6 separate regions of the Homo sapiens genome follow, and regions 1, 2, 3, 4 and 5 are each linked to region 6. The links are contacts of gene promoters, found by promoter capture Hi-C in blood cells and fetal thymus (Javierre and others, 2016). All regions are on one chromosome and are shown on one strand. Each heading gives the region's core, a stretch centred on a gene start or on the middle of the fragment in contact. The rest is flanking DNA. Distances are from core to core; before and after follow the strand shown.

Region 1 (4,940 bases), core at 585-3,084, 360 kb before region 6:
ACAAATTTTGGAAAATAGGGACCACGTCTTAGTCACTTTTGTAATGCTAGTGTCAGAAAATTCTTTGGAACCTGAGAAATGCTTAACAAACTTGAGCAGAGTTGCAGTACATTACTAAAGACAAGCAAAAAAAAAAAAAAAAAAAAAAAAAAGCACTGTCCCAGGTCATTGATAAGAGCACTAGTTGTGTTTGAGGTAGAAGATAAAAAGATTCGTTTGGGGAATATTGTATTTATTATTTTAAAGTCTTAATATTTACATTCTGTCCAGGACTTCAATGCCCACATGCCAATAGCTCATCCCTCAAAGGGTATCTGTCATATTGATAAAACCTCCTACAGCTCAAGAGTCTCTGTGTCTACCTTGCACCTCTACCTGGCCAGGACTGATTGGCTTTCAACAATTTAGTTTCCAATCTTCAGGTTTTGAGAAATGTGAAGCACATTCAGATGTGAATTGTATTGATAATCCAGGCCATTATTATTATAATCCCTAGGAAATCATGAAGCCAAAAGAGCTTTTTCATTCAGCAACAAAAAAGCTTTTATCCTCTATCCCCAGCTGACATACTTTCATAGAGGACTTGTCTTTGATCTGCCCTCTTTGTTTTTTGTTTGTTTGAGATGGGTTTGTTTCTTCATTCGTCAAGGCTGTGAGCTCACTAAAGACAAACTTCAGGAAGGAAAGCAAATGAAGTTCTGATTGTGAATTCCTGGTCTCTTATGGCAATTCCGGAACTGCCCCTTTTCAAAAGGATCCTAAGTACTTTGGTGGGAGCCTAGGTAGAGTTTGCAAGAGGGGCAGCCTGTTTTAGGGCTGTAGCTTGGATTTTCAGGTTTAAACATTAAAGTTTCTGCCTTGTCTTTGCTATGCATAAGCTGATGACCTGGGCAAGGCAACTCATCTCTTAGCACAAAGGGAGGCAGAAGAAGCATTCACTGAATTCCATTTATGGGCTCACACTAGGCCAGGTGCTAATGATGCATGATAGTCTAACCCTTATAACAACACTATGAATTGAATATATCTCCTTCTTACAGGAAAGGCAACAGAGGCTCAAAGAGCTTCAATAAGTGGCTCAAAGACATATGGCTGATGAGTGTTAAAACTAGAATCAGCATGTTTCCAAAGACCACACACTTGCCCTGCCTCCTTCTGAACCTGGGCTTATTCATCTCTAAGATGAGTTCCTTAGTTTTCCTTCAAGGTCTTTCCAGCTTCAAAAATTTGTGATTGAGTGAGGTTGGATTCTAACAGCACAGGAATTCATTATATAGGGCTGGAACTCAGTTGGGTTCATAGCAACCCTCCTCCTTCTTCTAGCTAAGACTTTCCATTCATAAAGGTTGGTTCCCACCTCCAACGTGACACCCCAGTCTCACTCCTCATCACTCTTCTTTGCACTGCACTAGAAATTCTTGCTTTCATCTCCCAAACTTGCTCATTTGCCTCTTCTCCTTCTGCAGAAACCTCTTTCTCTTTTTCTCCTCACATAGTTTTTCCCTCCTCCAACATAGCTCTCTGAAAAACTTACCTTCTCTTTTTCCAGGCATATCTTATTTCTATCTGAAAGGTTTCCTGGTTAAATAAACAATTCGAATGGCTTTGGAAAAGTCACTTCACTCGGCATTTAGTTCTCATTTGTGAAGTGAGACTGCTGTATTACATGGTCTCTGTAGGCTCTTCCAGTGCCAAAATTCTCATTACAAATAAATCTCGAATCTCTTTCTTTCCCTAGCAGCTGTGGGCTTTGTTTCTACATTAGGTCAATGTGCAGTCTCTACCATACTTCTTTGTTTTTATTCCTGGGTTTTTGCCACATGCAGCATTTAGGTGGTTCTAACTGAACTGTAAACTCTTGAAAAGAGGGGACCTTGTGACTTCCTTCTTCCTAACCCCTCCACTCCTATCTCTGGTCCACAAGACTAATCCACAAACTCAGGGGTTATTCAAATAATGCCATCAACTGTTGGACAGATGACAGATGGCAAGTGCCATCCACAGCCTTGTTTTTCTGGTGTCCCTGTCATATTGTCGACATTCAGCTTTTTCAAAAATATCTTTAGTTACTCATTAGTCTGAGAATTAGGCCTTAGCTGTTGGCTATTCTATGAATGGCTCTTTCGGTACAAACTAACTGAATCTGTGTCTATGCCCTTAATTGGAAAGATAAATTTAAATGGAACTGTCTCCTTGTGATGTCCTCTGAATTTCAGAAATGAAATTTGGGTCCTCTCAGTCTGATGGAATGCATAACACTTCCAGAGTTATCAGGAACCTGTCAGAATCATTATGGTTAGATATAAGTGTTTTTCTAAATGCTGCTATCCATGGAGTCTGATGTTTGAATTGCAGTGGTGGAAGACAGTATTTATGCAGTCATTCATTCAAACATCATTTTATTGAGCACTGACTATGTGTCAGACACTGGGGTAAAAGGATAAGTAAAACTTGGTTCTTGCCCTTAAGAGGTATTTGGCCAAAAAGGAAAGGGGTACTAAAACAGTTACTATAATGCACAGAGATACACTGTTATAAAGTATATAAGAGTATAAACAGACAGGGAGAGTCTCCAGGGATGATAGGAATCGAATCAAGTTGAGCAGTCAGTCTGGTCAGTCTGTTTTACAGCCTCCTGCCCTGCAGCCTGTGTGGAATGCAGTCACCTTGTTGGTTTAAACCAGGTCCTGACTGATCCTGGCAACTTCTAGATGAACTCGAGTGAACTTTCCTCATTACTATGCCAAAGTCTCCACCCTGGGAGGAGCTATACCTGCATTACCATGACATGCAACCCATATGCTGGCATGATGACTCATCATGTCTGTGCAACTGGGACCCCTCCTCTACCTGCCATGATGCACCCTTCTCCATTGCCGCATAAAACCCTCCTGTCCCCTTCTCTCCGGGAGACACTGCTTTGGAGAACACTCCCAGTATCCTCCTTACTTGCACCAAGTAATAAAACTCTTATTGATCAAAACCTGTGTTCTCGTGGAGTTACTCACCAGCTGAACAAATCCTGTTTTATTGAGGGTAACAGAGGTCCTGAAGAGGTAGGAATTGGATATAACCAGAGGCATCACAGACGATGCCACAGAGTATGTGAATTTAGGGCTAAGCTTTAGTAAGATCTGGCAGCAAAAGGCAGAGGGCATTTCAGGGAGAGAAACACCCAAAGGCACAGGGTAAGTATGGAGAATGAGGGCATGGGTGAAGGGACTGGCGAAAATCAGATTAAAAGGTAAGCAGGGGCCAGATAGTGAAAGGCTTTAAATGCCCTACAGAGGAAGCTCTATGCCAGTGGCTCTCCTGCTGTAGTGGGCTGAAGGCTTATAAAGGGACTTGGCTGAACATGTAGATTTCTGGGACCTACTGATTTGATTCAGCTGGCTTGAAGTGGAGCTTAGAAATCTGCATTGTAAGCCAGCCTCCTGGATGATTCAGATGTAGGCAGTCTGCTGGTAATCTTGTGCAGATATTGTTGTCAGCAGTGGAAAATACAAAGAGTGACATACAGCCTCATACTGGGCTTAGAAAGACAAGTCTAGCAGGTGAGTATGGCAGCTGAGTTGAGGGAGAAAGGCTCATCGTGATGTGGTCAGTTAGCATTTCACTGTGACGGTTCACACGAGAAACGCCCAATGCCTCAACTGTGGCAGTAGGCAGTGGTAATGCAGAGACAGAGGTGAGAACTCTTGCAGAGGGAGAATCCTCAGAATTCAGCAAATGAATGAAAGTTGAGGGGAGAGAGAGAGGGGAGAATCACAAGTACATTTAGTAGTTCTCACAGGAGTAATTAGGGTCTAGTGTCATTAATGCAAAGTAAAATATGTTTGAGTGAGAAGATAAAAAGGTTGGGTTGGGGCATATTGAGACTTCAGTGTCAGTGGAAGCTACAACTAGAGATTTAATTCAGGTCTTCTCCAGGTTTGCTTTTGGGGAATATGAATATATGTAGGGGATAGTTGAAGCCATGGGATTCTATGAGACAAAGTGATAACTTTGGGATAGAGACCAGAGAAAGTCAAAGACAGCGCCTGAGGCACCTCTGCCTTTAAGGGAAGAGAAGATGGGGCGGGACCTAGAACTAACTTAGGTGAGTGAATCTCACCTAAATTAAAGGGAGGGGAGAATTTAACTGAGGACTTTTTCAACATCAGGCTGAGACTGAGGCACAGTTTGCCCCCTAGAGGCAAGGAGGGGAATTGCGGGGAAGAGCCAGATGTGCTGAAAGGCAGAGGGGGGAAGTCCACACACACAGACGAGGGCTAAGAAGTGAGCTAATGGACGTGTCAATATATGTTTGTATGCACACGCATATACCTGTGCATGCATGTGTGCACCTGGGTGTATGTGTGGGCATGAAATTTGTGTTCATTATGTGCTACATAGGTAAGAGCCTTCTTTGTGACAGGTATGTGACAATCCTGTGAGTGAGGTGGGGGAATAGTAGCCAAAGTGTGCAGGACACCAAGAGGTCAGAAATCAAAGAGCAAGGGAAAGTAAGAGCCAGGAGCTGTGGGGCAGGGCTGGAGGAACTCCAGGGAGGGGCGCTGACACATATTGGCAGGCCGGGGGAAATTGAACATGGCCAGAATGAGACTCAGCAGAAGACAACAGTGCCAAATGCAACAGAGGGATTTACAAAACTGAGAAATGTCCTGGAGATTGCCACTTGGAAGGTCATTGTGACCTTTGACAGCGTGGTTTCTGTGGGGTCTAACTGAAGAGTGAACAGACGGTGAGAAGGTTGTTTGAGCAAAAGGAAGGAGAGAGCTAGTGACTCTGAAGTTAGAATCAGTGATGATACGAGATGAGGCAATTTTGCCCATTAAGCATATTGGTGCATCTTGGGGACTTAAAAAGATTTGTTTTGGACGACTTGCACTTCAAAAATTAGTCTTTTTCCTAAGAGGATAATAAAACTTAAAAGTAGC
Region 2 (4,577 bases), core at 462-2,961, 270 kb before region 6:
CCAAAGCTCTGGATTGATCAGCTCTTCCTTGAGATTCTCGGTTCTTTCAGACTTACCTCTAGAACTACCCATGATTCTTTGGAGTAAACAAACTTAATGATCCCTTTTTGGCTTGAAAGTACATGACACAAATGCAGAAAGAAGCTTTGCCTTCTTCTTCCCCCAGTGACATTTCTTTTATTTCTTTATTACACACAATCTTCTGAAATATAACTTTGTCTGTCTCATTTTCCCCAAGGATATATTTTTGAGTAAAAACCAAAGAGCCCCACTGAATGGCATTCAGGCTGGGTGGGGCAGGCTGCACCAAGACAAACACTTACTCAGAAAAGACATACAGAATGGAGATACTGAGACCTCCTCTTCCCAGAAGGAAAATATGGGGAGATGAGCTATGTACATACAAGTTATTCTTTGCAAATTTAACAATCAGATAGTTTAGTCTCACTCTACCAGAGAAGAATAAATAACACTGGCAGAGAGGACCAGATGTTTCACATGAGTTGCATTCCCTCCACCTGGAAGGAAACATTAAAAAAGGAGACAAATTCTTTCAAACTTTGGCTCACTGAAGCTGTCTTGGAATACTATTGAATCATGTCACTATGATTAGCTTGTTCAAAACAAGGAAACTTGAAGAAGGTGCTCTAAATCAAGGGCAGATGGCAAAGACCTTGCACACCATTTAGGATGCACTAGTAGTGCTCTTTGAAACACCATTAATAAAGATTCTGAGACCATGTATTGGTTGAACATTACATTCATTTAGCAATGTCTGCCCTGGGTGCAGTAATGGGAATGGTGCCAAGTGTACCCATATTTACCAGCCATGGTACAGATTATAGAATACGTCCTCGTGTTGGCCTGGTACACTTGCCTACTAACTTTTCAAGGCTTAGCTCAACTGTTTGCCTACCCTCCAATCTAACTTTTCAGGATCACCATTCATACCTTTCCCCCCGATATCCATATACTTCATGTCTATTATACCACGTTACTTACATTATGTCATTATTTGTTTAAGCTGTATTCTTACTTAGTTTGGTATCCCCAGTGCCTAGCACCATGTTGGCACAATTGAGAACACAATACCAGCTTTTTGAATTTAATTGGGCCTCTTCCATAAACTTTGCATAATTCCATTTGGCTGGTGCATTTTGCAGACAGCTCTGGCAAGGCCATGAACATTAGCTTCAGTTTTTTCTGCAACAAAGTAGGTTCTTCTGGGAAGAATCACAAGTAAAATAGGATTAGAGGGGGTTCAGTCCATAGAGTTTGATGTGATACACAGAATACCGTGAGCCACAGTTCCAAAACTGAATAAAAAATAAAAACAGGATAGTTAAACCTAACCCTGAAGACCTGAGGAAGTTCCAGCTTAAACAGGAAGCAAGAAGATGTGGAGAAACTAGAACCTTGTATACTGTTGGTGGAAACGCAAAATGTTACAGCCACTTTGCTGAATTTTTTGTTGTTTTTTTCACTGGCGAGAGTCATAGTGTCTCAGCAGGTGCAGCCACTTTGGAAGATGGCATGGAGGTGCCCTTAAAAACTAAAAATACAGCCGAGCGTGGTGGCTCATACCTGTAATCTCAGCGCTTTGGGAGGCTGAAGTGGGAGGATTGCTTGAGGCCAATAGGTCAAGACCAGTGTGAGCAACACAGAAACACTCTATCTGTTTAAAAAAAAAAAAAAGAATTACCATAGGATCTATGATCCAGCAATCCCATTTCTGGGTATTTACCCAAAGGAATTAAAGTCAGGATCTTAGAAAGATATTAGCACTCATGTTCATTGCAACACCAGTCTAGTCACAATACCTAAGATGTGGAAACAACCTAAATGTCCGTTGATAGGTGAATGGATAAATACAATGTTGTACATACATAAAATGGCATATATATTCAGCCTTAAAAAAGAAGGAAACTCTGTAATATGCCACAACACAGATGAACCTTGAGGACATGATGTTAAGTGAAATAAGCCAGTCACAGAAAAATGAATAGTGCATGATTCCACTTATAAGAGGTGTCTAAAATAGTCAAATTCATAGAATCAAAAAGTAAAATAGTGGTTGCCAGGGGCTGGGGGGAGGGAAAATGGGAGTTACTAATTGACAGGCATGAAGTTTCAGTCAAGCGAGATAAATAAGCTCTATAGATCTGCTTTATAACATTGTACCAATGATTAATCACAGTATATTGTATACAATTTGTTAAGAGGGTAGATCTCATTTTAAGTGTTCTTATCACAAAAATAAAACAAAAGAAAATGGATGGACGCATCTTTTGGGCAGTAACATAGTGATGGGGCTATATTGACTGTAGTTTCCAAACCACTATGCAATTTTATCACATGGCATAGTGTCATATGATTAGCCTTCAGCAGTCTTTCAAAGTGCAAAGTGACAATTTCCTATAGTCAAACCATGTGTAGAGGAGAAAACAACGTTGTGTTGGAATCATGGAGCCTGGCTGTAGTTATAGTTCTGCCCCTTGATAGCTGTCACAATGGAAGGCTTGTCACAAAGGTGAGCAGCACAGGGCCTTTCTCTTTACCTGTAAAATGGAGAGGGTGATAATACCCCAAGTATCTCACAGGCTTTGTGGCAGTCATGGAACATTGTATAAGAAAGGAAGTCTCCAGGTCTACTGAGAACTATATGAAATTTGTATTTTTTTCTCATGAGCTAGTAATTATGGTGGTTTTTTTTTTTTTCAAATATTTGAGTGTTAAGAGTGTTTCCTTTTTTGGTTGTGAGCATATGACTCTGAAAGCAATTCAGTTCCAAATGGAGTATTTCGGTTTTGGAACAGCAGTATTGTCGTTTTCTCCTGTTCAGTATTGAAGCACTGGCTCTTCGTGCATATATTTGTAAGTTGTCATCCTGATCATGAAGAGATGACACTCAATGAAGAGAAAGAAAGCTGAGTAAGCCCGGGAAAGCTAACAGGGCTAAATATGTGTAAATTGGGCACCCCCTTTCTACACCTTGATTTTCCTTAGACTTTGTGCATTTCCCTCCAACCAGGATTAGTCTGTGTGAATGATTTTATTTGCAAACCTCTGCTAGGAACCCTTACCTGAACACTGGACCTGCTGGTTCTGATGGCCTGGTGAGATAGCTCAAGTTCCTGTGCACATGGAAATTAGCTACAAGGAGGTGAACATTTGGCATCTAGCAACTTTCTTCTGCAGTCTGAGTCTAGGGTGAGATTTGTAGTGTAACCGGATGAGGGGAAAACAGTGGATAGGACTAGCTTCTGTGTAAAGCTTTCTTGTTTATCCAGAATGCAAATATTTTTGTCTTGAGTTCTGCAGAGCAGTGCTTACCAAACTTAAATACACAGGGGAATCATCCAGGGGTCACCTTAAAAAGCACTGATTCTGATTCCATAGGTCTGTGACGCCACCTGAGACTTCTGTCTACATGATTCACAATCTCCATGACCATACTTGAAAGAGCAAGGCTATCTAGACAACAAGCTTTTTAAAAGAGCCTCTTCCATTCACAAAATTTTCTACAACCACACAACTCCAAACACCACAACCTTCTTCTTCCCTGGTAGATGCTAAGTCTGCTTGTAAGTTAGGGGTAGAAACCTGTCCAAAGCAAAATATATACCAGTATCTGCAATGCATTTTGTTTATTTGAATAGAAGGCAAATAAGAAGCACAGATGGGAGAACTGTCACTCACTGCTGAAATACAGAGTTCTCTAGCTAGACAGCTCAAGAAGGGATAAATAAATGGCCCCATCAAAAAACAAATGCCAGAATGCAACCTTTAAAGATGTCAGCCACGATTTATTCTGTTTTCTTATTCTTTATTTAATTAAGCACACCCAATCACTTGTTAGAATGAGAAATATTTATTTGGAAAGTTTGTATACAAGCCTCTGCTTCTCTATCAGTGGAACTTAACAATATTAGGTTGGTGCAAAAGTAATTGAGGTTTTTGCAATTAAAAGTAATGGCAAAAACCGCAATTACTTTTGCACCAACCTAAATTTAATTGCAAAAACCTCAATTACTTTTGCACCAACCTAAATAGTTTGTTTCATAAGTGTAAATGTTATTGACTCTGTCAGAAAACCTTTTACATTTTGGGGGGAATGGGGAAGTTGCTATATTTGTGTGATGCTGAAATAAACTGTTGGAAATGAAAAAAATAAAATTACACAAATAAGTTGGTTATTTGCCTCTATGTCAGTAAAGTAGTCTGACTGATTTTTTACTTTTTACTTTCAGCAAGAATTAACTTTTGGTTTTGGTATATGAATATCAAGCTTCACTCTCTCCCTTCTACCCTCAACACACAATAAAAATGGCACAATCATTGCCACTCCTTTTATTCCAAGAGTTGTTGTAAAATTTGGCAAAATCATGGAAGTACTTCCAAAAAAATTACTGTAGTCACCTAAGAATCACTTCAATTTCTTTATCTTCTTTATCATCAGCTGGGTTAGAAGCATTAACATTTTCATTAGCATCTATGTTTATCATCATCTTTGTTTATTTAATCTTTGACTTCCTTGCATCTTCACAGCAGAGAAATTCCAAAGCCAGTTTCTTGTA
Region 3 (4,619 bases), core at 278-2,777, 420 kb before region 6:
GGAAGGTGCCCAGCTCTGAGAGTTCCAGAGCATCTCTAGAGTTAAATGTGAATGGGAGTGTCTCTGAACAGACCGCTTTCTCAAATACTTGGCAAGAAAGGAAGAATTAAAGATATTAAGTACAACAAAAACAACTCAGCCAATAACCCACCTATAAGATTCCAAACATTTGGATGGAAATATTACAATTCTGAAAACTATCCACCACCTTGAATGCCGATTACTGAGTTCTTTTCACAAATCACTCACTTAAAAATATTTTTAATTTTGGGGGGTACCTAAGTGGCTATATATGTATTTGTGGGGCACATGAGAAATTTTGATACAAGCATGTAATGCATATTAATCACATCATGGAACACAGGGTATCCATCCCCTCAAGCGTTTATCCTTTATATTATAAACAATCTAATTCTACCCTTTTCATTATTTTAAAGTACACAATTAAGTTATTATTAACTATAGTTACCCTGTTGTGCTATCAAATACTAGGTAAATTTGATCCTATTTTCTTGTACCCATTAGCCATCACCCTCTTCCTCCAAGCACCCCACTACCCTTCCTAGCTTCTGATGACTGTCCTTCTATTCTCTATGTCCATGAGTTCAACTGTTTTGATTTTTATATCCTACAAATAAGTGAGAACATGCAATGTTTGTTTTTCTGTGCCTCGCTTATTTCACTTAACATAATGATATCCAGTTCTGTCCATGTGGTTGCAAATGACAGGATCTCATTCTTTTTTATGGCTGAATAATACTCCATTGTGTATATGTATCACATTTTCTTTATCCATTTGAATGTTGATGGACACTTAAGTTGCTTCTAAATCTTGGATATTGTAAACAGCACTGCAACAAATACAGAGGTGCAGATATCTCCTTGATATGCTGATTTTCTTTCTTTTGGATATATATCCAGCAGTGGTATATATGGTATACCTGGACCATATGGTAGCTTTATTTTTAGTTTTAGTTTTGTTTTGTTTTTCTCTTTTGAGGCAGAGTTTTGCTCTTGTTGCCCAGGCTGAAGTGAAGTGGCGTGACCTCAGCTCACTGCAACCTCTGCTTCCCGGGTTCAAGTGATTCCCTGGCCTCAGCCTTCCGAGTAGCTGGGATTACAGGTGCCTGCTACCATGCCCAGCTAATTTTTTTTGTATTTTTAGTAGAGACGGAGTTTCACCATGTTGGCCAGGCTGGTCTCGAACTTCTGACCTCTGGTGATCCATCTGCCTCAGCCTCTCAAAGTGCTGAGATTACAGGCGTGAGCCACTGTGCCCAGCTATTTTTAGTTCTTTGAGGACCCTCCAAAGTGTTCTCCGTGGTGGTTGTACTAATTTACATTCCTACCAGCAAGGTACAAGGGTTCCCTTTTCTCCACATCCTTGCCAACATTTGTTATTGCCTGTCTTTTGGATATAAGCCATTTTAACTGGGACACAAATAACTCACTTTGTCTGGATTTTTGGGCATCTGGTTTGCTACATGAGAGTAGGAAAGAGTGGATTTTGCTCTGAGGGTGAACAGTTTTAGAGAGGTGACTTCCCACAGCTCAGCAAAGAGAATCAAACAGTGTTGCTGGGCACATCATGATTAGAGTAATCTGAGATGATTATCTTCCAGAGAGATAAAGAAACAAAATTCTGAGTTCGTCAGGAAAAAATTATGTAAATGCATAAAAAAATCATATAACAATTTAAATCCTAGCCCCACCATGAGTTGAAAGAAGAACCAAAATTTGTATACTAATTTGAATAAAATGTTTGATAGATTGCTTTAAAAATTGGGACTGTATGATATTGATGCAGAGTAGAAATGTAAGAAAAGAAATTGCTACTTATATTTATGTTCAGAAAAGGAGAAAGTTTTTTTTTTTTTCCCCATGCATAGACTATCAGACAGTTATAAGCACAGATATGGGAGCAGCCAGAATTATTGAGGGTGTATTTGGACATTGGAAGGCAAGTTGGATTGCAGAAGATAACTTAGAACTGGAAAGGGGAGGCCTGGGTTCTGCTGTAAAGCTCTGCCACAATCTTGCTGTGTGACAAGGGACAACATGTTTTGCTTCTCTGGGCCTCAGTTTTCTCTAGTGTGAAATGAACACTTTATGTTAGAAAGCCTCGAATTTATTTTTTATCTTTTAAGTGTTAGAATATTGTGATTTTATTTATTTATTCATTTTAGAGACAGGGTCTTGCTCTGTCGCCCAGGCTGGAATACACTGGCATGATCATAGCTCACTGTCTAGCTTCAAACTCCTGGGCTTAAGCTATCCTGCCACTTCAGCCTCCTGTGTAGTTGGTACTACAGGCACATGCCACCACGCCCAGCTAATTATCTTTATTTTTGTTTTTAGAGACTAGGTCTCACTATGCTGCCCAGGCTGGTCTTGAACTCTTGGCCTCAAGCAATCCTCCTGCCTCAGCCCTCTAATATGCTGAGATTATAGATATGAGCTACTGTGCCTAGATAGGATATTGTGATTCTAAATATGACAGCTACAAGACTGGTTTTGAAAATCCCAACCTTCTGCATTCTACTGGCTTCAGTGCTAATTTCTTTCTCCTTTTTTTTTTTTTTTTTTTTTGTTATTCCACTAAACAATAGTTAGTGAAGAACAGGGGTTCTCCAACTTTAGTGTGCAACAGAATCACCTGGAGGGCTTTAAAAATGCAGATTAATGGGCTCTGTCCCCAGAATTTCAGATTCAGTATATCTGGGTTATGGCCCAAGATTCTGCATTTTTAACAAGCTCCCAGGTGATGGTGATGTTGCTTGTGCCAGGACCATACTTTGAGAACCACCACACTAAATCATGAGATGCTAGGCCTTTACCTGCAGAGAACACAGAAAAGATCAGAAATAACTGCTCACCCTAACTGCTCCCTGCTGGGGCATCTAAGCCCAGGCTTAACTCTCTAGCTCGCTGTTTCCTATATGGATCCTCAGGAAAGATAAAGATGAAGGAAAGGCAGGGAGATAAAGTTTAGGCCTTTTCTACACTGGCTGCCTGGACTCTGGTGTCCAAGTGGGCAGAGAGCAGAGGAAGATTAATGGTTGGTTGCATGGATTTGGAAGCAGGATGCTAAGGGGCAAACTGGGTAAACTGCTTGTCTTCTCTAAGCTTCAGTTTCTCAATCTACAAACTGGATCTCCTGATATCCACATCAGAGGGCTGCTGACAAGCTTATATGAGGAAATGTACCTAAATGCATAGAAGCGTAGACAGTCACATAGTGAGGTACTCAATGGAGAGTAGAAGTTGTTATTATTATTAATTTGTGGAGCATTTTCAAAGATTGTCCTTGTAAGGAGACAGGGGCACTGTGTGTTAGGACAGTGTGTCTTAGACTAGGCCTGAACTCTGATGAGATTAAGTTTTCTGGGCAGGTCCTGGTTACAGTGGAAACTGACCCCTGTGCTAATAGCACATGTTATCCACACCACCAGAAACAGCAAGAGTGTTCCAGATACAGTTTACTAGCTTCAATTTTGGTAGCCCCTGTCCTCCAGTTATGTTCATATAGAGTCTGAATATGTTCATCTATCTTGACTCTAATTCCCAAGTGGTGCTTTGAAAATGGAGAAACACTGTTCATTTGATGGTGGATTTAAGATGAGTCATCCCCATTTTCGCTGGTTTTCACTTGCGAACAGGCAGTGGTTAGGGCATAATTTGATCCTCTTATGTTTCAGCATGTTCACATTATTCATTTTACGTAACAACTAAGCACTCTTTATGGGTAATCACAAAATCCAGCCTTCTGTGCCTATATATGTTTCACACAGTGATGTTGAGAGCAATAATTAATAATGTTTATTAGGAACTCGCTATGTGTCCAGACTTGAGGTAGGTGCTTTAGGGGAATAGAGAATAAAGGTTTAGGATAAACTTTGTCTTCTTTCCTAAGGCTTTTATCATAGTATGAGCTGGGCAGATAAGGTAAGAGTCTAAACTAGTTATCAAGCATTTGTTGATGAAAAACATCAAATTGTCTAAAATATTTAAAGAGGTTTATTCTGAGCCAATATAAGTAACCATGCCCTGGAATATGGTCTCAAAATGTCCTGGAAAGTGTGCCCAAAGTGGTCAGGTTACAACTTGATTTTATACATTTTAGGAAGATAGAAATTACAGGCAAAGACATATTAATAAATCAATACATGCAAGATATACATTTGTTCAGCCTACAAAGATGGGACATCTCCAAGTGAGGCCTTACAGATCATATATAGATTCAAAGATTTTCTGATTGGCAATTGATTGAAATAGTTAAGCTTTGCCTAAAGAGTTGGAGACAGTAGAAAGAAATGCTTGAGTTAAGATAAGGGGGGTTGTGGAAGCTGAGGTTCTTGCTATATAGATGAAGCCTCTAAGTAGCAGGTTTCAGATAGATAGATGATAAGTGTCTCTTTTTGTATCTTAAAAGGTGTCAGACTGTTAGTTTGATCTCTCCTGGATCCAGAAAGACCTATAAATGGGGAGAGATGCTCTACAGATGCAAATTTTCCCCACAAGAGGTGGCTTTGCAGGACCATTTCAAAATACGTCAAAGAAATATGTTTTGGGGTAAAAAATTTTGATTTCCTTCACAGCCTGCTATCTGTCATGTGATG
Region 4 (4,518 bases), core at 1,797-4,296, 310 kb before region 6:
AAAGGAATCAGTTGGAGAAAATGATGTTTGTGAAAGTAAGATCCACTCATCACTGTCCTAGATTCATGTCCCTTTTAGATACAGATAGACCCTGGGCAGAATAACAGTGATTGGGCTGTTTCCTAATGCCCATGCTGCAGAATCCCTGTGTGATGGCTCCCCAGCACTTGGTCTCCCCGTTACTTGCAACAAAACTGCTCAGCTGTTCAGAGGATTTCTGCTGGGCCTTGTCACTCTCCTTGACCTCAGCTCACAGTAAGCTGCCTTCTAAGGAGCTTGCTTCAATGCAGGGGCACTGCTAGTTTTGTCAGGTCAGGTGTTAACACCTGGGAAAGGTCAGGCTACCATGAGGCTTTGTGTTTTAGTCCGAGGGATCTTACCACATGGTGGAATGCCGTGGGTGTTGGCTTAGGCGTGACCGACTCTTCCCTCTGGCCCCAGGCAGAAGGCCACATGCTTGGAGCAGAGCAGAGGACATTTCCCACTTCTACACTCCACATGGTTTTGGCCTTGCCGGAAGAGGTCACAAAGTGGCTTTGGAATTCACTCACACAACATGAGGGTACTTTGCACAGGTAGAGAATGGTAAGTATATTGCAGCTGAACTGGAACTGGAGTCAAGCCCCTAATGTCTTGTCACAACTTTATCTGGTCTTGCATTTTAGAATATTTGTGTTCCCATTGAGTCAAGGACAAAAACTGAAAATTAACAACTGCTTGAGGGTCTGGCTTCAGTTTGAGAAAGTGCAGAGCTTGGTGGCTCAGTCCCTTCAATCTCACATTTGTTAAACTGACGAACTGGTGTCCTGTCTAGGATTCTATATTTTCCTACATAAGTTAGGTGTATTTTCAGAGGAATCTGGAGCCTTTGTTGAAACTAGCAGTTTTCTTTTTTGTTTGTTTGTTTTTTAGGTTGAAATACACACTACCTGAAGCTGGATAACTCATGAACTCTGTTGACAATTATATTCTTTGTCTTTTTAATTAACTCATTTGGAGTTGGTGTCCTGAGGACCTAAGCCTAAGAATCTTCAAGATGGAAGAGTAGAGTGAACAATGAATGAGCCAGAGGGCTCTTGTCCTCTGTGTGCAGCTCTGGGCAGCCAGCAGGTGGATATGGGACTTGGCCTGCTGGAGGGGCCCTGGCAAGAGGAGCTGGCAGGAGCAGATGGCAAAGGTCAGTGACTCCACAGTCCTTTTCCCCTACTGCGTAAGAACCACACTAACATAAAAACAACGAGAGTAAAAAATCAAACAAAAAAGATTTCTGGAGGATATCAGAAAAAATATACAAGACAATAATAAGTTATCAATTAAAACAAATTAAGGCAAAAAAATTAAATATTGAAAAAGTAGGTCAGGTCCTGGGGTACAGGCTGGGGATCTTATTGCAGAAATTCAGATTATAAGGTAATTAAACCAGAGTACTATGATTGAGCCGACAGATTTGAGGACAGAAAATACAGACCTGGGTAAATGATTACCCCATTCCTTTTGCCTCTAGGGAGAAAATACACCAATTATTTAGAGGAAGCCAAGCTCTTCCTATTACTTGGCTCCTACAGAAGGTCTCCCCTGGGCTTCATGCACTGGGCATAGAGAGACTTAGTGGAAGGTGTTCCCTGTGGCATCTGCACATAAAAAAGAAGTGGGTTTACTAAGGCAATTAAAGAGTCCCTCTTGGAGGCCACAGCCCTGATGTGTTCCTGAATGACAATAAATTCTGTCGGGAGCACAGCAACATGGTGTCAGGGTGTAGGTCTCTGATGGCTTATCCAGTGCTAAAGAGAGTGTTAATGACACACTTCAGCCAATAACACTATCGTGTAAGTCTTAGAAATATTTACCTTCAAATTCAAATCTCATCTCTGCTGGCTCCTACCTTTGTGATTTGGGGGCTCTCTGTGATTCTCTAACCTCTCTGAGCCTGTTTCCTCATCTAAAAAATGGGATGATTGCCTCATGGGTTTGATTTGAAGATTACGAGAAACATGGACCCAAAGTGCTGTACATGGTGCCTGTCACATAAGACACAAGACACAAGACACACTACATCCCAATAAAAGCCTCTCATCCCACAAGAAGTCTGCTCCAGAAAAAGATGTAGCATGGTGATTTCCAACCTTGTTGAGTACAAGAAATCTTTTTGTCATCACATGTTTCTCAGACTCGCACATGACAGGAGTTTTACTTTCAGTACCACTCAGGGAGAAAATGAATGACTGTCACACTTCAAACTGAGTTTGTAATTGGTTAATCCTAAGAACATGCCCACGCACTTGCAAAGGCGTAATACTATGTGAGGGAGGTGTGTGATCCTCAGGCTTCTCAGCATCACCCAGGGCCCCACCAGGGCTCTGGGGCCCATGGCTTTACCAGGACCAGATGTGGTCCTTGTGGGTCATGTTGTTGGTCTATACCCCTTGCTTCTGCACTGGCCCCACTCCTCATCCAGAGCAGAGATTGAGGAGGAGGTAGGCCACATGCTCCTGGGAGCTGAAGCTCTACTTTCAGGAATTAAGGCTTAATAGGGTCAATGGGCATCTGAATATCCCCAGGGGGGATTCATCTACTTTATAAGCATATGTACTGGATTGAATAGTGTTTCCCCATCCCCAAAATTATGTCCACCCAGAACCTCAGAATATGACCTGATTTGGAAGTAGGGTCTCTGCAGATGTAAGTTAGTGAAATTCAGACGAGGTCATACTGGATTGGGGTGGGCCTTATAAGAAAACCATATAAAGACACAGAGAGACACAGAATGCCCTGTAAGGAGTGAGGCAGAGACTGGAAGGATGCATCTATCGGCCAAGAAACACCAAGGCTTGCCTGCAGCCACCACAAGTTAGGAGGGATGCACAGAATAGATTTTCTCTCAGAGGATCTAGAACGAACGACTTTGCCAATACCTTAATTTCAAACTTATGGCTCTCAGGACTGTGAGAGAAAAATGTCTGCTCTTTTAAGCCACTCTGTGGTATTTAGTTATGGCAGACCTAGCAGACTAATATACCATATATTCTCATTCTTTCATAGTCTTTATTGGTTGCTTTCCCCCTTATGACTAAAGTAATAAATATCAATCATAGAACTTTTATAAAATACAACTATGCAAAAAAAAATATATTATCTCTTACTCCACTGCCTGAAGGTAAGTGTTCTAAACATGTTGATCTTTCTTTGCCTGGACTTCTGTGTACAAATGTGTGTGTGAATTATCATTTTTTAAAAATTTACATGATCAATATGTGTGCTCCTGCATTTCACTTCTGAGAAGGTAAGAACAGAAAACACAAACACGTGTAACTCATTTCTTTTTAATATCTGCAGGTAACATTCATAACAACTTTGAATCTTTCCCTATACCAGAGAGAGTGGCCCACTTGGCAGGGAGGCCCTCGCATTTGTGATGGACGGATGCTGGCAGATGTCTAGTGAGTTTAGCACTTAGCTCTAGCTTCTGTTCAACTCCACAGTGCCCAGGAGATAAGACAAAATTGGTAGAATGTAAAATCCTTGACAGCCTCTGGGTTTTAGGACTTAGCATGTCTTTATCATCAAGTCTGTTTACAAAGAAAAGTCTTCTGAAGGTTTTCCCCATGGAATAGAGTTATTTCAAAACGGCATGTGGTGAAAAGTTACATGAGCTTCCAGCAGCCTTGTCCGCTCCTGACAGGTTACAGGGAGAAATTGTTCTTGGCAGCCCAGGTTAGCCCCTTGAAGTAAGCCTGTTAGGTCCCTGGCTCTGTCGCAGTGTTAGCTGTGTCTGCCACTGATGGCAGAGACAGCAGGAGCGAGACACTGAAGCAGAGTGCAAGTCCTTGGATGATGAGAGCGGCAAGGCTCAGCACCCGCCTTTCCTCGGACGTGAAGGGGTCTGTGTCCTTCCCTTAACATGGAGCCAAATGTCTAGTGTTGGCCTGAAGGAGCTCAAACTAGTGCAATAAAGGGGTATAGAGTCTCCAACTGTGAACCTGAAAATCTAGACAGGTCTTAGTTAATTTAGCAAGTTTATTTTGCCAAAGTTAAGGACATACACGCCTGTGACACAGCCTCAGGAGGTTCTGATGACATGTGCCCAAGGTGGTCGGGGCACAGCTCAGTTTTATACACTGTAGGGAAACACGAGACACCAGTCAATATGTGTAAGAGGTACATTGGTTCAGTCCAAAAAGGTAGGACAACTTGAGGCAAAGGCAGGACAACTCCAAGTGGTGCAAGGGCGCCCAGGTCACAGGTAGGTAAGAGAGAAATGGTTGCATTCTTTTGAGCTTCTGATGAGCCTATCCAAATGAAGCAATCAGATATGCATTTATCTCAGTGAGCAGAGGGGCGACTTTGAATAGAACGGGAGGCAGATTTGCCCTAAGCAGTTGGGCTTGAGTGATTTTGGGGCCTGAGATTTATTTGCCTTTAACACAACTTTCCACTACCTAAGGAGACCTCACTACCTGTTGATGTAGGAGCTGCGGACTAAACCTGTGTTTGTCTGGTAGCTAATTATCAGCACAGAGG
Region 5 (4,886 bases), core at 2,092-4,591, 380 kb before region 6:
TTTTAAGCCACCAAATTTGCAGTAATTTTTTATGGCAGTCACAGGAATCTAATACATTTTCCTCTACCTTCTAACGTTAATCTCATGGCAATAGTGGTACCTTTACCCTGGCCTGTTTCAACCTTGACACAATTGTGGTCATACATTTTTTCCTTTTGTCTTTGAGCAGTCAATATCTTTTTATATGCAATTTGAATTTGTAATGTTTTCCTTCTTATATATCCAGAGTTCTTTCTTCCAGTTTCTTTCTTAGGATTTTCTTTCTTGTTTCATTTTGTCCAAAGACATGCTTCTACTAGTTTATTTCTAGAAATATACCTTTTATCAATTTCCCTCGTGGTTTTACGCAGTGGCTAATGTCTCCCATAGAACCCTTAGGAAAGGGACTGGATTGCCTTTGACTATAGGGTTATGGTTCTTTCATCCCTGGAGGACTAGGGACTCCAATAGTTCTCTGAAGCCACCTACCTTTTCCTGGAAATATTGCCAAATTATCAGTGGAAGAACAGAAACATCTGCAGAAATGCAGATGGTGACAGTGTTTGGACTTGTTTGGGGCCTAGTTTGGCCATAGCTAGCACACACCTCTGTCCTAATTTCACAGACTGACATTCAAGGTGGCCAGGTTTGGGCTGCAGCCACTCTTCCAACTTTCCAGACTCCTCTCCTGCAGCTCCCCTCTGCGGGTGCCTTGGCTCCATTGCTTCTCATATCTAGACTACCCCTTCCCTCCTGTCTACTCACCAAAGTCCTATTTATCCTAAACAGCCCATTGCAAATCTCATTTTCTCTTGGGAGATGATCTTGACTTCCCTTGGATCCAGTGATCTCTTACTGCTCTGGACTGGCTCATAACTATACAAACTTGGTTGGCATTGATATGGTCCCTTGGGTTGTTAATGTCCTTCTCACTCTTGATAGACTGAACTTTAGAGGTCAGAGGCATACCTTGCCCTTTGTATCTCTCCTGCACCATCCCACATTTAGTTGGAGCTCCTCCTTGTGGATTGAGCCAACCCCTGCAATGACTCTTTTCTCTCCTGCTTGGAAAAGGGCTAATCATAAAGACAGATGGTAGCCCCACTTTCTAGTTGGATTACAAACCTTGGTGCTCTTCTGGGAATGCCTAATTGTTCTTCACGGGTAGTTAAAGCCTGCTTTATTTGTTTTAGCACTAAATAACATCTCTGATTTGTAGGAGTTCAGTCAGGCAGCCAGCCATCGGGTAGACTGGGTAACTGGCAGTGGCAGCTCTCTACCACAGCCTGGACCAACAGCAGCCCCATGGCCTAGACTTTCTTACCTGTCCTCCTGCCAGCAAGGGTTCTATGGGTGCACCTACAATGACAGCTGGGTACTGACCTTCCACCAGACTGGGTGCTGGGGAAATAGAAAACACCAACACATTGTCCTTGCCCTGGAAGGCTTTGTTGTGTTGTCAGTCTCAACCCAAAGATTCAGGCTGATTGCCCCTGGACCGTCCTCTGCTTGGGCAAGATTGTGGATGCTCCCTGTCAGGTGGGGGTGGGGTGGGACAGCATGGAGGCCTGGGTCACATCATGGCATGGGCTGCGGAGTTAGAGGGACTGACTTCCACACTAGCTATTTGACTTCTGTGATGTGGATGTTCCTTACCTGTAGAATATAGAATTATAATAGCTGCTTCCTGTAATGATGAGGAATAAATGAGATCATGGATTTAAAGCACTGGAAAGAAATGTAGTCAATGGCAAGCCTTCAATAAATGGCCACATCAAAATCATGGTGTTCTCACATCATAGCCTCTTGGTCTGTGCCTGCCCCTACTCCCATCTGTCTGGCCTTTTGTACATTTTGTCTGTTATTCTCTCTGACTCCCACCCTTCCCCACGGCTTGCCAGCTCAGATATTTGAACCCCTTCTCTCTTTCCCTCTCTCTCTCTCTCTCTTTTTTTTTTTAAGAGACAGAGTCTTGCTATGTTGCCCATGCTGGACTCAAACTTCTGGGTTCGAGGGATCCTCTCACATCAGCCTCCTGAGTAGGTGGTACTACAGGCACATGCCACTGTGCACAGCTCTTAACCCTGTTCTTACCTCTCATAGCTGCATGCTCTTGTCCTAACTTCCGCAACTACCTTTTTCAGTTGGCATTATCTTGGTGACCCCTGCTTCTCTTCTGTCCAGAGGCCTGTCATCAAAAGGAAATGGTGACGTCTTTCTTCCATTCCACTCCTTCAAGAGTCTTGCCATTATGAGAAAGGTGCATCCACTTTAAAGTGGGAGAGCTTTGACTTAGGGTTTGGATTCCTTGTCAATATTCAGCCATGTCATCTCACAGCATCCTTAGAAAGGGAACAATTTTGGTCCATTCTGCCCTAAAAAATTACAGCTTAATACAATTTCTTTAATGTGTGTGAGCCAGTGATAAAAGTTCTAATCTCTGCAAAGCATGAGAAGTGTTAATACAGCTTGGGAAAATACCCGCACATCCTCAATTTCCTGGCATAATTCTGTCCCTTGCCAGCGCAGAGCTTATCTCCAGAAGGCAGTGGGTGCCAGAATGACACTTTTTAGACCAAGAAATGGAATATATTTTTTCTTTGCCTGCAGTTTCCTTTCAGTATTTTGGGGAAGCAATGGGACTCTCAGAGGGGAGAAACTTGATTGGTTTGGCTATCTCCTCCTTCCATGTCCTTTCCTGCTTGCATTTCTTGCAGTTTTACTAGTCGTTGGCATCCTATAGGATTCTAATTTTGAGAGAAAAAAGGAAAATGCTTGAAAAGACCTTCCTAGAAGGAAACTAAACTATGTAGCTGGTGAGCTGGACTCTTTAGTACCCAATTATTATGGTCACTCTCTCCTTGTATGTCCTATTAGGTTACTTAATAGGACTTACCTATACACGGGTTCAGTAAGAGCAGGGGCCATGTCTTATTTATTTATGTGACCTCAGCACCTAGTCTATTTATTGGGGAGGCATGTTGAGAGAATGAATAAATGATTGAATTAGAAATAGGTCCAAGAACAAGCTCGTCTTTAGCTTTAATTGGCTTTCCCATGTAATTAGGTGTTTAGGTAGGTTTTTATTCACTTACTAGACAATCTTTGAGCATCTCCTGTGTGATAAACACTTTGCCAAATGCAGAGGAATCAAAGGTAAGACAAGGCCCTTGTCCTGGAAGAACTTGTTATGAATTCTCCTGCTTTCCTCAAAACTATTCCAGATCTGTAGTGTTTTCCTTTAAAATGTTTTTCTATTAAAAAAAAGAATTAAAAATTCAAAGTAATGTAAAAATCCATGTACCCTGGTAACATTTGGTCGTACAGTATATGCTTTAATTTCCTAAAAATAAAGTATTATCTATAATACCGAAGTTGCCTATGTTCTCCTTAGTCCAGTTTTTCTCCCTTCCAGATCAACTACTGTAATGAATTTGTGGTATATTCAGTTCACAATTTTTATGCTTTTATTACTTAGCAAGTGAGTATATAATAAATTATATCGGAGATAAATATTTTTGTAAATATTAAGCCAAGGTCTTTAATTTTCATCTTTTAAATCTTAAATACTTGAAGCTGGCTGTTGTATTCAGGGCTCACAGTTATTTCTTCTCAGCACTTTGAAAGGCTTACTGTGTTCTTTCCATCAGCCAGCCCCTGCCTTTCTTCAGTTACGGAAAATTCTCAGCCTGTGTCTTTTTGAATATTGCTTCTCACCACTCCTCATATTCTCTCCATCTGGAATTCACATCAGGTGTATTTTGAAAACTCTCATTCTAGTATCAAGGCTTATTAAGTTCCCCCTTTCCTTCACATTTTTATACTTTTATCTCTGTGTTTGATATACAGGACAAATTCCTTAGTTGTATCTTCAAATTCACTACATCTCTTTCTGACTGTATCCAGCCTAGAGTTTATACCATCTCTTGCACTTTAATTCTAATTACTACATTTTCGCAATTTCTGGATTTAAAAATTGGTTCTATTTTATACCCATTTGTTCTTGATTCATATCTCCCTCTTCAAATGTTTATTTTAAAATTATTTTGATATTGCTTTATTTTTTATTTAATTGGGCATGATTTTGTTTTCCAATTGATGAGTGAATTATTTTTCTTAATATTCATTTTCTTCATGTACTTTGGAATTATTGACTGTAGGGCTCATCTTGAGTAGGAGACTCTTTTTTTCTCTGCTTATTACTCTGCTTACTACTGCCTGTGGTGAAACTGGGCCTAGGGTCCAGATCTCAAAATATCCATCCTACCAAATGTTTACTCAGCACTAACAAATATCTGCAGGTGTTTTATTCCTTTCTGTGGTGTCTTTGGTTGATACATAACTAACATTTCCATTGATAACTCCTTCAAACATATAGCATAATAACACATTAAATTTTCTGAATGGAAGCCATCCCACCTACAGACTTGTAAACAGGTCATTTAGAAAGGATGAATAGCCCGAATTTTTAAAACATTTTTAAAAATTTTTAAAAAATCACAAAGCAAGAACTAACCGAGATGAGACAAAAGATTTATTGTTTGGCATACTTTAGGATTTAGAATCTGTTAATGTTGTTGTTGATGAGGTTGAAACTAACTTCCAAAACCAGGGTGAAAGAAGCAGGACATGTGGCCCAGGCTTAGGTATTTGACTCCTGGATAGAGGTTGCCCTGGCCAGCCTGGCCTTTCCTCTCCAGTTTCTTCACTATCAAGGCAACTCTCTGGCATTCATTTGGCCAGCTGTTTTTGTTGTTGTTGTTATGCGTTTTATGTTACTATGTTTACTCTAATGTTACTATATATTATGCCTTAAATACAGACTGTTTAGACTAAGGCAGATACATTAAGACTAAGGCAGATACATTAAACATAACATATAGGAACAAAGTATCATAGATTGGATA
Region 6 (5,067 bases), core at 376-2,875:
CCCTAGTGCTCATAATGTATTATTCCATTATTTCACTTTTTATCCCTTCTCTCACAGATAAGAAAAGAAAAAGCTCTACTTCTTTAGGGTTCTTGGACGTAGACTCTCCACAGTTCATCTGGGGTTGTTCATCTCCACTTCTTTTTGTATCCCAGGGCAACTTTCCTGCAGTTTCCCTAATGAGAATATTTTCCGGACTAGGCAAGGGGCGGCTTGCCCCGCCCCCTACTCTTCTCCCTGATCAGGAGCTGCGGCCAGCTACCTGGCGCCGGCCAAAGTCAGGGGAGCGGGGAGAGGCGGCGTCACCTCCTCCACGCTCCTCCGGCCCCATTCAATCTAGCTATTTGCACTCGGCTCTGGCTCTTTTCCGCCAGCTGCGGCTGTTCCAGAAGCGCCGGGCTGCCGGTCCTGGCCTCGGCAGGGGCCGTGCGGGACCGAGGGGTGGCGGCCGAGGCATGTGGGGCGGGTGGGTTGCGCGCTGCTGGCACGGCGCGGGGACCCAGCGCGCCAGGCGGGAAAGGGGGGCGGCGGCGGGCGGGGACCCAGACCCGGAGGGGCAGCGGGCGCGTAGCGGGCCCCAGGACGCCCGGCCAGGGGATTGGCCTCTGCACCGCTGCTCAGGGCGCGTCCCTTGCCGCCTCTGGCGTCGACTCAAGCCTCCTCCTCCGAGCAGCCCTCAGTGGCGCCGCCTTAGTGCTCTGGGTCGAGCCCCGGGAGGGTTAGCCTGGGGACGGCAGGGGCGTGACCGTGGCGCGGAAGTAGGTGAGCAGCAGGGCGGCGCGCGGCGGTCAGGCCGGGACAGCCAGAGGGGCAGCGACATCTGCGGGCGGGCGGGCGGGAGGCGGACGCTTCCCGGGCGGAGCAGGGCCCTCCGGAGGACGCAGGCCGCGTCGAGGCTGAAGGGCCTCCCTGTCCGGGACGGTCAGCTGCCAAGTTCGGGCCCTTAGCGCGTGGCCCCGGGCCGCGGCTCGGAGCGGAAGCGTCGCCCCTGGCTGCGCGCTCATGCTGGTCCTAGCGCAGAAGACCCGGCGAGGTCCGCGAATTTTGGCTTAGCGTTTGTCAAGTCACCTCGAGCGACTCGGAGAGAACCCGGCTTTCCCACTAGGGACGGTGATCGCAGTCTCTTTCCTTTAGAAAGTTACTCCGATACTTTTGATCATCTGTCCATAGTAAGGAGGAAAAATAGCGTGGTTTGTCCCCGGGTGAGGGAGTGTTGGAGGATCCCGTCCAGTGGGAAGAGCCAGTTTTAGCGGAGCAGCGCGTCCAGCCCGCTGACACTTCAGCCTGGTAAAGGGTTAACTGCATCCTGCCGGTTCGGTTTACATGTAAATAGAGAGCAGCTGCTCCGCGCGGCCCCGGCTGGCTCTTTTAAGTTTTTGATTGGTTGCCAATGACATCACCGCCCGTGTTTTAACACCGAGGACCCAGAGCAGCTTCGGATAAACCCTCCTTAAAGAGATGAGGCCACGCCTTCTTACCCGCCCCCTAGGCTGCCCATTGGTCGCGGGGCTCTGTGAGGTAGCGGTCGGCTTTCTCCGGATTCTTATTGGCCCAACCCGCCGTCGGTCGGCGGCGAGTCCGCCCCCTCAGAACCTTACATTTACAGTGTAGCAAAAGAGAAAGTAACTATGTTGCTGCTGGAGATCAATGAAGCCGAGTGAATGGGGGCTGAATGTGCGAGTCCATAGCTGAAGAGGAGCGCCAGATGGTGGAGGAATACACTTATTTATGAAGTAAGTGGAAGTCACCGCGACTACTCCTGAGAGCCCGGGACTGGAGGTGGAGGATTGTAAGGCGGTGCTTGTGTGAGTGTGAGTGTGTGTGTTTGTGTGTGTGTATCTGTGTGTGTGTGAGAGAGAGACAGAGACAGAAAGATAGAGATGCGATGCTGACGGAGGAGCTACAGCAGGTAGGGTTATAAGGTTCCGGCCGTTGGCTCCTGCTACCCTGTGCGTTTACTCCCTGCAGTCTACTTGGATTTGGGGCGAAGAAAAAATGAGGTTTGTTGGGATGCTTTGCGGCAGTTTTAAATGCTCGGGGCTCATTAGTGCGCTGTGTGCCGAGGAGTGAAGCGGGGGGCGGGGGGATGTTAAGTGCTCCAGGAATGGGGAAGAAGCATTCTCTAACCACTTAATTTTCTCTCCAGCTCTTGCCTAGTGGTGGAAGGGAGAGGGGATAGCTCAGTATTTCTCTGGGAGATTTTCTGGGCCAGACTGGATGGTTTCACGGGCAGTATGTACGCCCGACCCTCTGCTGCAGGGATGCAGGTCTCTCTATACACTCCGTGTGTGTGTGTGTGAGCCTTGAACTCTGTGTGGAGGTGGGGGTCCCAGCGCGTGTCTCTGTGAACACGCTTATGCGTCCCTCTCAGAAGAAATGGTATGTTGATCCTGGACGTGTCCTACCAGGTAACACAATAGCAAAGACTTTCACCGCTTGGTCCAACCGGGAAACAGTTATAGCTTCTGGAATAGAACTCGCTCTTCAGAAAAAATACTACGCAAGGGAAGGGGGGTTGACTCCTTCGCTCCCATCCAAAGGTGGGTGAGAGAAACCCGAGTCGTTGGAGATCTGCCGACGTGATGGGTGCGTGCCCCGTGTGCGCGCGTGAGTGTGGATTCCGCCTGTGACACTTTGGTTCTGTGTCAGAGAATGGTGACGGTCGTGTGTAGACGGATGAGAATGGTGACGGTCGTGTGTAGACGGATGATAGATGGCATTTTTCCTGATAGCTCTTAAAGTTCGTTTAGGTGAGCGTCTCTTGGCGTGGGGTTTGGCGTCTTTGCTATGTGCATGTCTAATAGAAGAAGAAGAGTTAGCAAGCCTGAGTTGTAGAGTGCCCCTGTGCCTACAGGAGGAAGGAGCTGTCTTTTTGCAGACACTCTGAAATCAGAGATAGATCCGGTGGGCAACAATTCACTGTCCCTTTCAACGAGTACAGGCTAATTGGGAGGTCCTCTTTACGGAATCAGTACTCTTGAAGGGGGGATATCTGTATGGGATTGAAACCTTATACAACGTGGCTGCCTCCCATTGAGAGAAGCTCTAGGATGCACAGTCTGTGCCAGCCAGGGAGATGAAGAGGGGAGGAGAGCCCAAGTTGTCCTTTCCAGGCAGGAATGAGGGCGGGGGCAGGTGAGAGAGCAAAGGGTGAGGGATTTGCCGGGGCTGGGGTTTCCAGGTTTCCAGATCTGGCTCCATGGCTTGAGATTTCGTTTTAGGACACCAGTTAGTAGTGAAAAGGGGAAATGCAGATTAATTTATAAGAGGCCAAAAGACAACATGTGAGGTTTTAGTATGACTATGTTGTGCTTTTCAAAGGACCCCAATAGAGAATGGAAGGCAAGAATAGCTCCAAGTTAAAGAGATTCACTTAAGGGGATTTGCAGAAAGTTGACATCCACCCTGATGTATATTTAGCTGCTGTACCTTTCTGTGAACCATGCCAGTGCTCTTGGTTACCCCTTTGCCTTTGCAGCGAGTGAGGGAATTAAATGGCAAGCATGCAAGGGTGGACAAATGGGTCTTTCTCAGATGTTTGCAGTGTACTTCTGCCCGAGAGCTGAGGTTCAGAATAGATGCCTCTTAAGAGCCTCCCTTCTGTCTTCAGCTTTTCTAATTATTTGTGCTTATACCTTCTCTACAGCTGAACTTTTATGTAGGTCCAGGAAAGGTTGTTCATTAACATTTACAACATTACATCCAAATTTAACCTTAGACTTAGCAACCAAATTGATTGGAGCCCTCAGGTTTGCATCCTCTTTGAATACATAAAAATGAATTTCAAGTTTTGATAATGGTATGATAAAGGGCAATTAGGACGACTTTGCTCAGAGGGATGCAAAGGTCTTTCCCAGGGATTGGATGAGACTGCCTTTTGTGTCACGTGACTTTATTCTTTCTTTCCCCCTTCCCCTTCTTTACAGACTGTCTTGAGTTCTTCTTGAATTGCCAGTTTTCAGCCTCCTCATGCCTCCGTCTCCTTTAGACGACAGGGTAGTAGTGGCACTATCTAGGCCCGTCCGACCTCAGGATCTCAACCTTTGTTTAGACTCTAGTTACCTTGGCTCTGCCAACCCAGGCAGTAACAGCCACCCTCCTGTCATCGCCACCACCGTTGTGTCCCTCAAGGCTGCGAATCTGACGTATATGCCCTCATCCAGCGGCTCTGCCCGCTCGCTGAATTGTGGATGCAGCAGTGCCAGCTGCTGCACTGTGGCAACCTACGACAAGGACAATCAGGCCCAAACCCAAGCCATTGCCGCTGGCACCACCACCACTGCCATCGGAACCTCTACCACCTGCCCTGCTAACCAGATGGTCAACAATAATGAGAATACAGGCTCTCTAAGTCCATCAAGTGGGGTGGGCAGCCCTGTGTCAGGGACCCCCAAGCAGCTAGCCAGCATCAAAATAATCTACCCCAATGACTTGGCAAAGAAGATGACCAAATGCAGCAAGAGTCACCTGCCGAGTCAGGGCCCTGTCATCATTGACTGCAGGCCCTTCATGGAGTACAACAAGAGTCACATCCAAGGAGCTGTCCACATTAACTGTGCCGATAAGATCAGCCGGCGGAGACTGCAGCAGGGCAAGATCACTGTCCTAGACTTGATTTCCTGTAGGGAAGGCAAGGACTCTTTCAAGAGGATCTTTTCCAAAGAAATTATAGTTTATGATGAGAATACCAATGAACCAAGCCGAGTGATGCCCTCCCAGCCACTTCACATAGTCCTCGAGTCCCTGAAGAGAGAAGGCAAAGAACCTCTGGTGTTGAAAGGTAATGCCCCTGCTCCCTTCCCAAGCACGGTCCTGATTAGCCGGGTTCACTTTGGGTTTTCTCGTAGAGTGACAGCATTCTCCTTACCCTGGCTACCAAAGACCAAAATAGACTTTATTCTTCTCTTCCCTTCTATGCTCTTTATTGTTTTGGTTTAGTAAGAAAAACCCAGCAGCACTGAACTGGAAGCCAGAAGATCTGGGTTCTACCCTTCATTTGGGTTCTAATTTGCATTGTGCAAGTCATTTCACCTCTCTGGGACTGTTTTCTCATCTTTCTAAAAAGGG

Evidence for each region. Contacts are between HindIII fragments. The CHiCAGO score rates a contact against its expected background, and 5 or more counts as called.
Region 1: a contact is called between a fragment that was not itself captured here and the fragment with the promoter of DUSP10 in region 6, in 2 of 17 cell types (erythroblasts and M0 macrophages). The highest score is 5.2, in erythroblasts.
Region 2: a contact is called between a fragment that was not itself captured here and the fragment with the promoter of DUSP10 in region 6, in 1 of 17 cell types (M2 macrophages). The highest score is 6.0, in M2 macrophages.
Region 3: a fragment that was not itself captured here is called in contact with the fragment with the promoter of DUSP10 in region 6 in 4 of 17 cell types (megakaryocytes, M0 macrophages, M2 macrophages and 1 more); the score reaches 7.4 in megakaryocytes.
Region 4: a fragment that was not itself captured here is called in contact with the fragment with the promoter of DUSP10 in region 6 in 1 of 17 cell types (megakaryocytes); the score reaches 5.1 in megakaryocytes.
Region 5: a fragment that was not itself captured here is called in contact with the fragment with the promoter of DUSP10 in region 6 in 1 of 17 cell types (megakaryocytes); the score reaches 5.4 in megakaryocytes.

Annotation. Positions count from the first base shown.
Region 1 is chr1:222,095,611-222,100,550 of GRCh38, reverse strand. All of the region lies in intron 1 of LOC124904518 (a long non-coding RNA gene), which reads left to right. Among named protein-coding and RNA genes, the nearest start is that of LINC01705, 39 kb to the right of the region's middle. RefSeq lists a silencer at 1,577-1,777. The HindIII fragment of the contact is 2,581 bases long and covers 544-3,124 here.
Region 2 is chr1:222,012,438-222,017,014 of GRCh38, reverse strand. No RefSeq gene overlaps it. Among named protein-coding and RNA genes, the nearest start is that of LINC02257, 36 kb to the right of the region's middle. The HindIII fragment of the contact is 3,129 bases long and covers 147-3,275 here.
Region 3 is chr1:222,160,884-222,165,502 of GRCh38, reverse strand. No RefSeq gene overlaps it. Among named protein-coding and RNA genes, the nearest start is that of LINC01705, 100 kb to the right of the region's middle. The HindIII fragment of the contact is 3,203 bases long and covers 1-3,128 here.
Region 4 is chr1:222,055,073-222,059,590 of GRCh38, reverse strand. It overlaps LINC01705 (long intergenic non-protein coding RNA 1705), which reads left to right and starts at 198. Exons shown (of 3, transcript XR_001738485.2): 1 at 198-585; 2 at 913-1,177. The HindIII fragment of the contact is 9,452 bases long and covers 1-4,518 here.
Region 5 is chr1:222,120,916-222,125,801 of GRCh38, reverse strand. No RefSeq gene overlaps it. Among named protein-coding and RNA genes, the nearest start is that of LINC01705, 64 kb to the right of the region's middle. The HindIII fragment of the contact is 7,998 bases long and covers 1-4,886 here.
Region 6 is chr1:221,738,647-221,743,713 of GRCh38, reverse strand. It overlaps DUSP10 (dual specificity phosphatase 10), which reads left to right and starts at 1,625. Exons shown (of 4, transcript NM_007207.6): 1 at 1,625-1,733; 2 at 3,927-4,780. The coding sequence starts at 3,970. RefSeq lists silencers at 389-868, 2,589-2,638 and enhancers at 642-1,279, 1,089-1,288, 1,619-1,808, 1,280-1,917, 1,918-2,555 and 2 more. The HindIII fragment of the contact is 7,400 bases long and covers 1-5,067 here.